Regions from separate parts of the Homo sapiens genome. Here region 1 is linked to region 2. Evidence: promoter capture Hi-C in human tissues and cell types (Jung and others, 2019). All regions are on one chromosome and are shown on one strand. Each heading gives the region's core, a stretch centred on a gene start or on the middle of the fragment in contact. The rest is flanking DNA. Distances are from core to core; before and after follow the strand shown.

Region 1 (7,411 bases), core at 2,227-4,726, 430 kb before region 2:
CAATTACAGATCAATGGTTTGGTATAAATGTTCAGTATATCATAAGGATAATGAATAAACTAACATGTCTAATAAAGAAAGATGTAGTGGGTACAATGCAGACAGCATAACTGTGTTTAACTTATGTACTGGTTTCACTACGGAAACACAGAGAGGGATGGAATTCTACTCCAAGTGTCGCTTATGCAACAATGGGCAGTTCAAACGTGTACTTTTAAATTCAAACACAAAACTGCATGAATGCTTTTTAATTTTTTTCTCACATATTTAAATAAGTTCATTTTTTGGAAAAATCACTAGAGTTTTAAAACATATAGTTAGAAGAGACACTACCATTATCTTATGGAAAATAGTTTAGGATTAATGATTTAGAAAAATTATCAAAAAAGGAGGCAAATATAACAAAATTCTCTAATATTTCTAGTCAGCAGGTTATAAAAAGGTCAGGTAAAGTGGGAAATCAAAAGTTCATATAACCTCAAACATTCTAACTTAAGATGCACAGATGTAAATTCATTCACTGCTCTTTGATGTAGAGTGAAAGCTTTATTTTTTAAATGTACCCACTGATGGGATTTTCATCCTGTCCTTCTTGCACACATAGCATACAAAGGCTTGCCTTTGATGTTCTCCTTTTCTACGTAGATCAAACATTTCAACACATCTGCAAAATAATTTACATGTAAATTCATTTATTTCATATTTTTATTTCATTATTTTAGTGTCCCATTCAATTATAATTTAATAGCATAATTTTTTGGTTAGGGTAGGTAGCTCACCAAAGATTATTTCTTAAGTACTTAATTTTGCTTTTATGAAAACAGCTCTTCCTGTTTTTACATTGTATGTATATAATATTTTTTAAATTACATTATTAAAATAAGCAATTGTAAAAACAGGCCTTAACAGGTTAAGTAATAGTAAAACAAAATTTTGAAGAAATATAACTGGCATGAGAAGGTGAACTAGAAATTACCCTACTGGTCCTAGCCCCAAACGGTGCAAAGAACAGACTTTCAGCATGTATTACTGAGGGACTGGAAATCTTATCTGAACAAGTCTGTTGACTGAAGTTTAAGAACTTCTACAGGTCACTAGATGCAGGATTGCTGGAGAACTGTGATCCATACACTGACAAACCTTTAAGAAATCATGACCTGAAACTTGATTTTTTTTTAGTTTGTCCAAACAAGTGCAGGCCAAGCAAAAGCAACCACCTGCTACTCCTTAATTTATTACACAATTTGTAAGAAAGGCAGTAGAAAATGAGAATACTGTGGATAGATCACATGCACCAGAAATAATACAAATGATTCTCTCAATAAAATAATAATCTAAGCCAAGCTTGTCCAACCTGTGGCCTGCAGGCCACATGCAGCCCAGGATGGTTTTGAATGTGGCCCAACACAAATTCGTAAACTTTCTTAAAACATTATGAGATTTTTTTTTTTTAGCATATCAGCTACTGTTAGTATATTTTATGTGTGGCCCAAGACAATTCTTTTTCTTCCAATGTGGCCCACGAAAGCCAAAAGATTGGACACCTTTGAATTAAGATATAAATACAGAAGCATAGCTTTCCAGAAACCATTTTTATTCATCTATAGAAATAATCCCTCTTATCTGGGGAAGAAATGATCCAGAACCATCTTATGTCTATTAGTTAAATGCCTCCTATCATATATCCCTTAGTAAATCACTTGATAAAAAGAAATTTTAAAAATCTACTGTAAATCTTATTAGTGTCATCAGAATTGAAAAATCACAATTAAATTTAAAGATAAGTAATATGTATTGACAAACGACATTTCTAAAAATCTCCGTGAAAGCACTGGCCTTCCTATTTCCTTAACTATTTTTAGGTATATTTGTATTGCAAGCACACGATGGCACACTAAGCAAAGAAATCTGTTTACACACTAAATGTTTCCATACAAGCAACAATATGCAAATGGCTTATTGTAAATGTTCACAATTCTTAGTGATTAATTCAGATTAGCAAGTTCATATTAGCGAATGGAAGCTGACTGAGTCCAGGCACCTTAACTCTCTGGTTTAATGCTGTGTCTTGAAGCATCTAGAATATTTATTGGAACAAAGAAGATGCTCAATAAAACATGGTTGAATGATTTCTCTTTCAGATACACACATACTCTACCATGTGTTCAAACATTTTCCTAATTTTGAAAAAAAAATCTCGTTTCTTAAAAGCATGCGGGGTTAGAATTTTTAATGTATTTAGTGTGAAATAACAGTTCCTTTCAGCATTTGACCCTGATTCATAGAAAACAAGAACCTGCACAAAGAATAAATTATCCTCAGCCATTCAACAATCAGGCTGTCTTCTAGCAATGTATAAAAATAACCAAGCTGTAGGGTTGCTAAACATCTATATTCCATGAAAATCATTTTCTTCTTCCCATCTATTGTAGAGACATTTGCCTTTTACCTTCAGACTGGTGGTTTGGCAACTCTACCAAATACATCATTTTATATATATTATCCCCAGTCATCAGTAAATAAGAATATATTTTATATTCCTGTTTGTGTAAAAGGCCAAATTACAGATTAATTAAAATGAGCTCATTTAGGAGTAATTGGGATGGATGCGGTGGCTCACGCCTGTAACCCCAGCACTTTGGGTGGCCAAGGGAGACAGATCACTTGAGCTCAGGAGTTCGAGACCAGCCTGGGCAACATAGTTAGATCCTGTCTCAATTTTAAAAAGAGTAATTGCACAGAGTTAAAAGAAGCAATGCATGGGAAATAACTCTAAACCAGGAAGGGAAGAAACTCGAGTTTTGCCACATATACCCCCCCCAGAGCAAGCATTTATTAAGCACCTACGCTGGCTTTGGGTAAAGAAATAAGTACAATTCCTGTATTCAAAGAACCAACAGTTTATTATTTTACAATATTAATCAACTACACATAAAAAGTCTCAAATGTTACCTTGTTCTCCCTTTCTCTTTAGGTGTCTTTGGTCAAGAAATGAGCACTTTTGAAGCACCCATAAAAACATAAATAATGGAATTTACTAAGGTACAATGTGCAGGAGATTATATATGAATTAAACTAATTATTACCACAACACTGTGAGTTGTTGTTTTGTAATTTACAGGACAAAGCATAAATTCCTGAGAAGGGAGTTAACTCGTCCTCAGTTAGTAAACTGCAGCCCTAGGTTTAAAACCCAGAGAAGTTCATTTCAAAACCCATTTCTTTCTCCTATGCCATTCTGTTACTGTATGCCGTATCTGTGTGCCCAGCACCACTGAAACACCAATCTAAGATCTTAAAATTCTATTTAGAGTGCCAGATGGAAACAAAAAGAAAAAAAAAACACACAATACATTATGTGAACCTATCTAATAGATATGTCTTCTGAAATGACATCTACTAAAAGAAACACTAACTTATCAAAAGAAAACCATTAGCTATATGCATACTAAAGACTAATTCATTATAATCATGCCTTCACGAGCTGTAAAACTATATTAAATCTTTTGAAACAAAGGAAAAATACCCATATTCTGAAAAGTAAACAATGTTTTCATCTGCCTAGTTTAAACAAACAAAAATACTATTCCTGGCCCGCCCAACTACCATCACATTCAGTACCATAGAAAGGTATCTGATTTAATGTATAAACACCGTAAAATCCATTGCAATTCTTCCTCCCAGAAACAAGAAGAGGAAATGACAAAGAAATATACAGTAGTCTCATTTATACAAACTTTCCCTGAGGAAATAGGTGGACCTAGAAACAAAGGCATATATAACACGCCAAGTAATGGTGGTGGTCAGTACTTAGCAATGTCTTAGCAAAGACTTTGTTCAAAAATAGCCTTTGGATATCAAAGCCATTAAAACAACTTTTATAGCACAAGAATTCTGGTATTATAGGTGTGGTCCAGTTATTATAAATGTCAAGATACAGGAGCTAAAATCCTAATTTACACATTTACTTTTTGATCCTAAAATAAAAATAAGATATTTTTATTGTACTGATCTCGCATAAAGATCATTATGTTCTATATATTGTCCTCAATTTCATAAGCACCACTTATGTTACTCTTACAATATTTTCTTAATTGCCTTCTACCACTTTTCTTATAAAAAGCTAGAAAATATAAAAATTTTATCTCAAAAGCAAAACTAATTCTATGTCACTGAGAGATCATTGTTTATATTTATGAATTTAATGAGATACCTATAATTTATGTGCACTTTAAGAAACCACAGATGACGTTGACCAACAACCTAAGTTTTTTACATCAACAGTATGACACTTTGAAAATCATCTTTAGTAATTTTAAACAAAACAAAAAACACACATGTAACACGTAATCAATTTGATATTCCATCCAAATATGTTGTTGTTTAAACAACAGGGTATCACTGTCTTCTAGAGTTTCTCATTAGAAAAAAAAAATTGTGTACTGTGTTTCAGTTCAGGCACTACAGCATGATTAGAGTACCCCTATTAGACAAAACATAAACTCAAACTTAAGTACATTTTGCAAAACATGAAAACTTTTAACAAGTGACCTCAACTAGAATTATAAATGGGCTTGTCCATATGACTTGGGAGTTTCATGACATAATTGACAACAGGCTAAAGTTAAAAAACAAAAATGGGTCAGTACAAGGCACACTGTTCTGAATAGATGGAGACAGGTTTAGAAAGCACGAGTTTCTAATTGTACATCACCACATATATGGTTTATATGCCAACTACTGCATGTGTCTTTGTAAATTACTATCTACTTTCCTTTGACAAGAATAAATTGTGATAAGAAGGCATCTAAACATTCCAAGTTATAGCTATGTAACTTCAAAAATCTACAGAAAAGTCATCCAGTTCTAAAGATTAATGCATAATTATTTCAAACATGAAAATGGAATATAATTATACTCAATATTGAATGTATAATGAGTCTGTGTTAAACAATTCTATTACTCACCTTAGCTTTTTCCTTTTCCATATGGTTCAGTAATTTGCTTTCTAAAGAACGTATGCATAGTGGGAGTAAACAAGACACCAAGAGGTACCTTCTCCTCTTCCTTATTAATGACATCATTAAGTTTGCTTATTTATAGTCTCGATCATCTAACCTCATGCCCTACATGAATAAGGGGATTTGTTTAGTTGTTAATCCTCACAGTGTGTGGTTAGCAGCAATAAACCAGTGACAGATAGTAATTTGATACTATCTTTTTTATTTTTAAAATAAAACATGGCAAGATTGCAGTTTGTGCTGTTCTGGTTTATGTCAACCTTAAATGTGATAAAGTTTCTTTATCAGCAAAATTTGGAAAATGTAAATCTCATGTATTTATTTTTATAGGAAATTTACATTTGAATTATATAAGTTAGATTTCTACCAGGTATTTAGAAACACAGCCCTTGTTTAAAAAATATACAGTCAATGATTCTATTGACTATTTTTCACATTTTAGATACATCTGATAATAGCAAGTAGATTTTTAATTTGAACATTAAGAATCTCTCCTAAGTACATGTATTATTTCTCCTTCATTCTGTAAAGGTTTTCAATTAATCTTATCACTTATTCTAAGAAGACTTCTTTAAATACTAATTAGCTCTGTTAGAAGAAATACTTTATACCACAAAACAATGTTAATTCAATTTTTTCTTTTAAGTCACCAAACTTTCAACACAAACCATTTGGAGTTTCAATTAAAGGATGCATTTAGCTATCCACAGATATTCTATACCACAATTTTATCTTACATAAAAAGACTAATTCTCACATTCATCTAATATTACATAATACCAGACATCTATTTAAGGGATGAAGTTAACGCAGTCCTTAATAAAAGAATAATGTTTTAGCACACACAGAAAGTACAGTACTGTAAGCAAGGAGATGAGTCAAGTTGCATTATTCAGTTAGTTTAGCAAAATTATATGTAATCGTGTACCAGCCAACTTAGAATGTCCACGAGCAACTTCTTAGTCCATGCTGACGGAGTTAATATTACACTCAAAGTCTGCTCTAAGGTTCATGTGCTAAAGGATTCTTTATTTTTTAATTTAATGCAGGTAAATTGACTAACTGCAATTGTTACTACCAAGAGGGTTGTTAATACAGAGAGGTCCATGCCAGGATCGTACAGGGGAAAGAGTGCCAATCTAGAGATCAAAATGCTTAATTCTAGTTTGAATTTCTGTCCAGTACCCGAAGAAAATACCTAAAGTTAGCTTCATAGGGTTCTCATATTTTAAATGATAGAGACTATTCCTTGTAAAAGCTAAAGCCCTAGATTAGCGTGATTATCATATTGTTTATTGAAGAATTTACCATAATTTGAAAGGAACCTCACCATGTCTTAAGGCTAGGAAGTGTTTCCAGTAAGAACATAATGAACAGCAGTAGTTAATATTATATACACACAGTTTAATGGATTAAGCATTACATTTAAAATAATTTTTATTCTCTAACATGTATATACATTTAATCATTACATATACATTTAATGCATTAAGAAAAAAATTCTGTACTTTACTCTCCAAAGCATCAATTCAAAAAACATAACTACTTCAGCTTTTTCTACAAAAATGCTGATGGAGAAAAAGAGTCCTCAGACATATTAAAATGTGCAAGGGTAATCATAGTTTGAGAGAAAATATTAGATATTTTTAAAGCAAAAGATTAGGAAAGGTTAAATTATTTTAAAAGTTTTACACAACGTATTTACTTACAACTGTTCCAGAAAGTCTCCATAAAACAGTATTGTTCCTCTAGCGCTTTACTTTTAGAGAATGCTGAACCAACTGTCCTGCTCTGTTACTAACTCAACTGTTTATCATGTATGTGTAAGCGCCAGGCACTTCTTACCTCTGGCAAATATGTAAAAGAAGGAATTCACTGGTCTTATCCAATCATTCTGGGAATAATCATGTTAACATTTTCACAGGCTCTTTTTCTAAAGAGAATGTGCTTTATGCAATAAAAATTACAAAAATAAAAAGCAGCTTCTTATCAAGCAATTTTAAAATTGGAGAATCCAATTTTTTGTTTCCTTTATAAAGTTATAAATGCAGATTCTCAACATATACAAAATCTTTAATTATCTTAATTCATCGTTTGATCTGATTGCTAAGAAGCACATCTGTATAATATTTTTTAAAGCCTTAAAATTACTTGTAGGATGATAGTTTGAAGAAAGCTGAGTATATAAAAATAAAATTCAGAGAAAAAAGCAGGCATTTAATTTTGTAAAAAGAAAAAAAGAACCAGGTAAACTTCCTGGCAGATGCCCTAAATTGTCTCCCAGTGGGCCCAGGGCAAACATCATTTTCTACCACGGAAGCCTCAATACGGCCAATGGAAGCTGGTATTTCTGTTTCATGGCTTCACTTCTACTAACATTCTACTGTGAA
Region 2 (7,650 bases), core at 466-2,965:
TCATTCATAAATGTAAACCAGTTCAATCAAGACCAGCTCTGATGCTTACTCAGAACAAAGTTACTCACATTTAGTCACCTGTAGAGAAGCATGGTGTGTACAATACACTCAAGTTAATTAACAGCCATTTCTGGGAACCCTGTCCAAAGAAATAGTTTTCTTTATCTCCTATGGTAGGAATTCTTCTGAAATAGACAAGACCCAGGGCTCTCCTCTCAGGCAACCACTATTTTGAAATGTTTTTGGGGGGACTATTATTGCTACTCAATGTAAAATATTAAGTGAGATGTCAATATTTTTCAACATATCATTAGGAATTACAGTTTGGAGGCCTTAAGTTCTATTTTTGAAGCCCTTTTAGCCAGTACTGACTGGAAGCCCTGTTGAAATCAGAAGTCTTCATTTCATATAGGGCACACTCTATTTGGAGTGAATGTGATGAAATGTTTCCATGCAAATTCCTACAAGCACTTATGCCTTTATCTTTGTCCTCATAAGCCACATTATACTACCTGTTGTGTATTTTAAAACCCTGTATGATTTTTAAAACTTATCTTTCAATTAATATGTATAGATTTTCTGTCAATAATTTCTTATTCTAATTATGTGGTGGCTAACTGAATGAAACATTTATGGTTATGATATAGAATATTCTAAATACAACTACAGACAATATGGATCATAGATAAAGTAAATTATTGTTTTATGGCTCCAGTGGTTCTTCCTGGTAATTAATAAAAATAAACAGTTATTAAATATATACAGAAAAACAGCAATCTATCAAGCTTATAGAACAATTAAGAATATATAATAATCTTTAAATCAATAAATTAAAAGGTAAACATTTAATATAAAATGAATATATTAAAGGATAAAGAAGTAGCATATTATGGAACATATAGAGATTATTTTATTTTTTGAAGGTTCAACCTCTTTTAAATGGTTAGTATTGGTGTTCTTTTCTCTATGAAAACAGATTTTAGAGAAAAATGATAGTGTATTTCACAAAGCCAAACACCTCTATATTGTTATCACTCCCTATATGCATGGCCTCTCTAAAGCTGTTAAATAAAAAACTAAAGCACAAGAATGATAGTTCCAATTTCACTATACATTTATGTTTAAAAAATACTGGACACACTGGGCATTTAAATAGATGACATACAGCCAGGAAACTCATTAGACTAGCTTTAAGTATAATAAAAAATATTTTTTCTGAATACAATTAATCATAAGCATCTACAAAAACACAAGACCATTGATGCCTAGTATGTACCATAAATCACCATTTCCAGACAGGCTCTATTTTCTTTGAAAGATAAAGAAATAGTAAGCAGTTTACACATCAAACGATGCCTTTGGTTCCTGTAATTTACATTTAAACAACACTGGGTTAAAAATAGCAGCATGAAGATGATTTTAAAGTAAGGAAAATGACCTGGTAGCTAGGTTCTATGGTGCAGATAATGAAATGTTTTGTCAGCTTACCTGATAAAACAGAGCCTTATGAATTACAGCATAACAAAGCCCAGCATCCAAGATGGTTAGGGTATAACGTGTCTTCCTCTGCAGCTGTTCAGCTTTTTTTTTTTTTTTTTTTTTTGACCACAGAGGTTTACAAATTAGTTACAATTTTTTTTCTTTCTTTCTCTGTGGATAAGAAAACAAAGAGACCTTTCCAGAATCCTCTCTGCTTATGCCTCCGCTTCCTGTTCTGAGATTCACTCTATGGTACCCAACATATATCAGAAAACAGCTTTGAGGAAAAAAAAAAAGAAAGAAAAAAAGGCCGATCGCACTCAAAGTGGTACCGCCATCTACTGGCGGACACACACAAAATTGAGCCAAAGAAAAAACATTCCCATTATCCTCTGTCACAGGGAGGAAAGTAAACCTGCATGAAGCATGGGTAGTCATGAAAGTGCCCCAAGATGACAGTAGAGAGGTGATGTGAGCTAAAATTTCCCAACACACTAAAAAAATGTAACTTATCTACTACATATAAATATGTATGAGACCTTTTACATATTCAGTTATTTGCATCTCACTAATTTTTTTAAAAAATTTTATCACTTTGTTGTTTTGCATGATTGTTTCACACATAAACTACTAAAATTAAAAGATATATAAATTACTGTTTGAAAAATAGGTTTTAAGTTTACATTACCCTTTACGTGTAGAGTTTTGCGAAAGCTCCCTTGTGGCCTGCTCTAGTCTTTTGAAAACCTTTTCTCTTCCTGGGATGAATTATTTTCAAGGTGAGGAATTTGACTCCTTAGAGAACAGTGTAAACACATACTCACTGATAGTATTTTTGTGTTGCTTTCTGGTAAAACATTTGCAAGAAATATCTAAATGTAGAAAAAGATTCTATACATCAGTGAACCTAGCTAATATTATTTATTAGGATATTGAAGCACACAATACATAAAGAAAATAAAAATAATCCATCAGTTATTAAGATATTTCTCAATCCAGATGTATGTTATTGTTTCATCTGACCTTTCATATCTACTTTAGAGCAAACAACTATGATTTTATTACAGTTTATCATCAATTAAATAAATACATTCATATTGACAAACCAACTGTATGGATGGACAAAAATGATGTCAAGTATTATATTAGACTTGAAAAGACACAGAGAGAAACACACAGTGCCTGCCATAAAGGAGCTCATACAAAGAAGAAAAACAAATATAGCTGATACCATATTTCCCAGCCATGTGTTCAAGAACTGTTAATTACATACTTCGTTTTCAATTGTGGCCCCCATTTTGTCTAATGGCAGAAAAATAAATCTAGTCAGTTCCAGGTAAACTAAATTACTTGAGGCTTTTCCCAATGATTTTGGGTTTGCATTCAACCAATACATGATTTTCCTCTTCTATCTCTCCTTCTCATGGAGACTGATCTAAGTTCAGGATTGTGTACATATATAGAGAAAGCAGAGTATGATCCCGTTCCCCCTTTCTCCACATGGGCATCCACTGAGGCCAGGAGTCCTGCATGATCCATGACCATCATTATCCCTCATATCTACTAACGTACCCACAGGCCCACTGGGCCCCGGGAATAGCATCCCTCCAGCTTTGCATGGCAGCATCCCCTCTTTGTCACTTCTTCCTCTAAGGAAACTTTTGTTCCTGTCCTTTAGGAGGAGAGAAGAAAAAGCAGCATGTTCCCAGGGTCACTCTTGGCTGTAATTGGCTGACTTAAGCCTTCCTCCCTGCCCCAGGCGCCTCACACAGCCATCTCTGTTCTGCTGTTTGTAAACCATGGGATGTAATGCACTCTGCAGGCTTCAGGCAAGCGAGGCACAATCTCTGCCACACTAGAATAGTGTAAATAGATGGAAACTTCTCATCTTTTCATCTTTTTAGCTAATCCTAGATTGGCAAACTATGTAAGGAGCCCTTATCAGAGACTCCTTTCCTTCTTCATAACTTCCTTCACAGACTCAAAAGAGTTTTTGCTTGGGTCTCTTCTTTCTGTACCAAAGGTAAGCTGGAGCCACTTGTTTTCCCTTGAAATCTTTTTGTCTTATGTCTAATGTATCAGTTTACTAGGGCTGCTGTAACAAACTGCCATCCTGAGGGGCTTAGACACAGAAATCATTTTTTTCACAATTCTGGCTACTCAGAGGCCAGAATCAAGTTGTCAGCATGATCATGCTTCCTCTGAAACCTGCAGGGGAAGGATACTTTCTTGCTTCTCTTAGCTTTTAGTAGCCCCAGATGTTCCTTGGTTTGTGGCAGCATAACTCCAGTCTCTGTCTCTGTCTTTACATGGTGCACTCCCTGCATCACTGTCTTTACGTACTCCTCCCTCTGTGCATGCCTCTGTGTCAAATTTTCTCCTCTTTATAAGGACACCAGTCACTTTGGTTTAGGGTCCGCCCTCATAACCTAATTTTAACCTGATTATCTCTGTAAATACCCTATTTCAAAATAAGGGCATATTCTGAATTACTCAGAATTAGAACTTTTTGAGAGGAGGCACAATTCAACCCCTAACACAAGAATTTAAATATAAAGCACAAGAATTTGACAATTCTTCTGTCCATCTCCAACGACAATTCCACTTAGGCAATAATAGCCTTGGCTATCTGGCCAGAATTGGGGAGGGTAGGGGAAGAGCCTCAGGTAATGATGAAGACATTTAATAATATTAGTAACAATAACAAAACTAACATTTATTGGTACTATGTGCCAGACATTGTTCTAAGCACTTTACATATGTTCATTTAAACTTCACCCATATGAGGTATTATTATACACACTTTACAGGTGAAGAAGCAATGAAATGTGAGGGAAGTAAAACGTAGTTAGTACCTGATATGGTTTGGCTGTGTCCCCACCCAGATATCATCTTGAATTGTCAGATATCATCTTGAATTGTAGCTCCCATAATCCCTACATGTCATGGGGGGCACCTGGTGGGAGGTAATTGAATAATGGGGGCGAGTTTTGCCCATGCTGTTCTAGTGATAATGAATAAGTCTCATGAGAGCTGATGGTTTTATAAAGAGGAACGTGTCCCCTGCACACGTTCTCTTGCCTGCCACCATGTAAGATGTGCCTTTGCTCTTCCTTCACATTCCACCATGATTGTGAGGCCTCCCCAGCCATGTGGAACAGTGAGTCCATTAAACCTCTTTTTCTTTATACATTACCCAGTCTCAGGTGTTTCTTTATGGCAGTGTGAAAATGGACTAATACAGCACCTCACATCTCATCCCAACACAAGCAGTTGTAATCGGGTAAGATCACTCATAATACAAGCATTTGTCAGATGCTGAAAGAACACAAAGGAAATCAGCTTCCACTAATTTAGATCATTGATACTCACACGTTTAGTGTAAATTTATAACATTTCATTGTTTCATTGTGTACACTTTCTGTCATGAAAGATTCCTATTTTCTAGGCACTTTTAACTTTTTCTTCTCTACTCATGAACAAACTAGCCCTGCTCACTGTCTCTCAACTAAATGTTCATTAAGTGCCAGTCCCTACTGCTCCACACTCATTTTACCATTACTAGTAATATTTAATAGAATATTAATTCTATCACTCAGTTTTGGGTATCCAGATGCTCCAAAGAGTTTTCTGATGACGTCTTCTGAGGAACTGATTTTTCTTAGGTTATACTGGGCCACATTTTAATGAGAACTGGTTTGAACAAAATAAGAAAAGTAAATGATAATTATTGTGGCGATATTCCTCATAGAAAAAAAGAAAAATAAATAAATGCCAGCAAAGAGAGCTTTACTCTTTGTTGCTGAAGAAACTAATTTATCTTGTCATTAAAAGTAGAAAATTATATAAAGGAAGAGTGACCAGAGGTGTGGTATCATTTGCTATGATTCTAACTTCATTGTGACTTTCGTACTTTTTTTCTGTAGACAGAACGACAGGTAGTTTGCAAATCTTCAGTGAGTGGATTCTGAGAGGGTTAAGGTGAAATAGTCATTGATTACCAACATAAGGTCTCTGGAGCCTTAGTGGTGTCTGACCATATGTTGTAAACATATCATGCATAAATCACAGAAATTCACACTAGAAGAGAGCTAATAGCCTCCAGCTGGGACTCATAGGTTGCTCTGTGCATGTCTACTGTTTCTGATTACTCAAGGTCTTCAGAGCCTTTGTGGGTAGGAGCTATAATGCTGGTTTCTATTTGATTTTATAAGCTTCATAGCCAAAGAATACTTTTTGTAACATCCATAGATCTACCAAAAGATTCCCAGACTCTGGCCCAATTTTCTTGTTTCCTAGACCATTATTTCCCAGACAGTGATTGGAGGAATACTACTGTTCTGCTGGACTAATGAAGTGCCACTCCACATCCACCAGAATGGCTACAACTTAAAAAGGCTTATCATACTGTTTGTGAGAATCTAGAGCTACAGAAGCTGTCAGAGACTTCAGGTAGGAATGTAAACTAGTATAACCACTTAGAAAAATGGTTTGGCATTACCAACTGAACGTGAGTCTACTCTGTGAGCCAGCAAGTGCCACTCTTAGGCATATACCTGACAGAAATGTGTGTGTGTACAAGAATGCCTGTGGAAGCATTATTGAAAACAGGTCAAACAAGAAAGAACAGAAATATCTTGAACAGGAGAATGGATATAAGAATTGTGGTGTATTCTGAATCTATAGTATCATACTAACATGAAAATGAAAAACTGCAGCTACCCACAGAAATATGCTGGATTTCACAAATCTGAGGCTGAGGACGAAGAAGGTATGTAAGCAAAACATTATTAAATTTAAAAACAGGACTGGGCGTGGTGGCTCAAACCTATAATCTCAACATTTTTGAAGGCTGAAGTGGGAGGATCACTTGAGCCTCCAGGAGTTCAAGACCAGCCTGGGAAAAATGGCAAGACCCTGTCTCTACAAAAAAAATGAAAAAAATAAAAATTAGTTTGGTATGGTGGTGTGCACCTGTCCAGCTACTCAGGAGGCAGAGATGGGAGAATCACTTGAGCCAGGGAGTTCCAGGCCACAGTGAGCTATGATCATACCAGTTCACTGCAGCCTGGACAACAAAGCCAGATTCTTGAAAGATAAAAATAAAAACAGGTTAAATAAACTCTAATATTGGAAGTAAGAGCATTGGTTTCTCTTGAGATAAGATAGAGCTTTTGGCAAGATTGGTTGAGATAAGGGCTATTCTGGGTACTAGTAAGATCCTATTTCTTAATCTGGGTAGTAGTTATATAGGAATTCACTTCCTGGTAATTCATTGAGCCAAACATTTATGCACTTTTTTGCATGTGGATTGTACTTCAAATTTCAAAGTAACAGGCGAGTTTTTTGACAGTTGTCACCTCTGAGGAAGAAAAAAGTAATGAAAGGTGAAATAAGTGGAATTTCCAGGATTTGATCTGTATATATCTGTTCTGTTTGAACTTTGTATGCTTATTAGTGTAATAAGAAGTGCATTATTAGTGTAATTTTCAAAAAATAAATTTAAGGCATTAAAAGTACAGTAAAGATGTACCTTCATACTATTTGTACTTATTTACCTCTAAGTTATTCTCTTTTTAAGTTGAGTCTAGGATGGCATTCATCATTATTTTAAATTGAGTCTGTCCTGGAATTCCTCTTATGCCAGAAGGCCTATTCAAGCTGATACTCAGCTTCTATGCTTCTGTCTTCAGTCATCTTAGTAACAAAGTTAACTACCACTGTGTTTGCATGTATGTTAAATAAACAAAATTTACATGTCATCTACAATTTCACACCTCTATAGTCTAGTTTAGATTTGTATCTCCTGATTGTAAATACTGAGACTAACTCACTTTTGCCCACTGCCTAATATATTATGCCATAAATTACACAATGAAATACATGACCTGACAAAAGATAATAAAACACTTTTACCTTTGTTACATCTTCTTCCTTTAAAACATCTAAACAAGTTGAGAAGGGTAGATAATTTTCAGATTTTTCAGGTGAGAAAAATTGGTACAGAAATGTGAAAATTACATGATGGTTAAAAATTGGCCAAATAAAACAGGATAATTGCCAGTTTAAAATATATGCATTAGACAATATGATTTTATATCAAGGGCTCATTTCAGATATAATAACTGTCAAATATTATTTAGAAGGTGTGCTTGATTCAGCAATATTAAA

Evidence for each region. Contacts are between HindIII fragments. The study calls those that stand out against the background at their distance.
Region 1: a contact is called between a fragment that was not itself captured here and the fragment with the promoter of SCN3A in region 2, in 1 of the 25 tissues and cell types used here (IMR-90 fibroblasts).

What each region holds. Positions count from the first base shown.
Region 1 is chr2:164,766,977-164,774,387 of GRCh38, forward strand. The region is part of intron 2 of COBLL1 (cordon-bleu WH2 repeat protein like 1); the gene reads right to left. Among named protein-coding and RNA genes, the nearest start is that of COBLL1, 71 kb to the right of the region's middle. The HindIII fragment of the contact is 5,065 bases long and covers 945-6,009 here.
Region 2 is chr2:165,202,335-165,209,984 of GRCh38, forward strand. It overlaps SCN3A (sodium voltage-gated channel alpha subunit 3), which reads right to left and starts at 1,716. Exons shown (of 28, transcript NM_006922.4): 1 at 1,489-1,716. The HindIII fragment of the contact is 11,221 bases long and covers 1-7,158 here.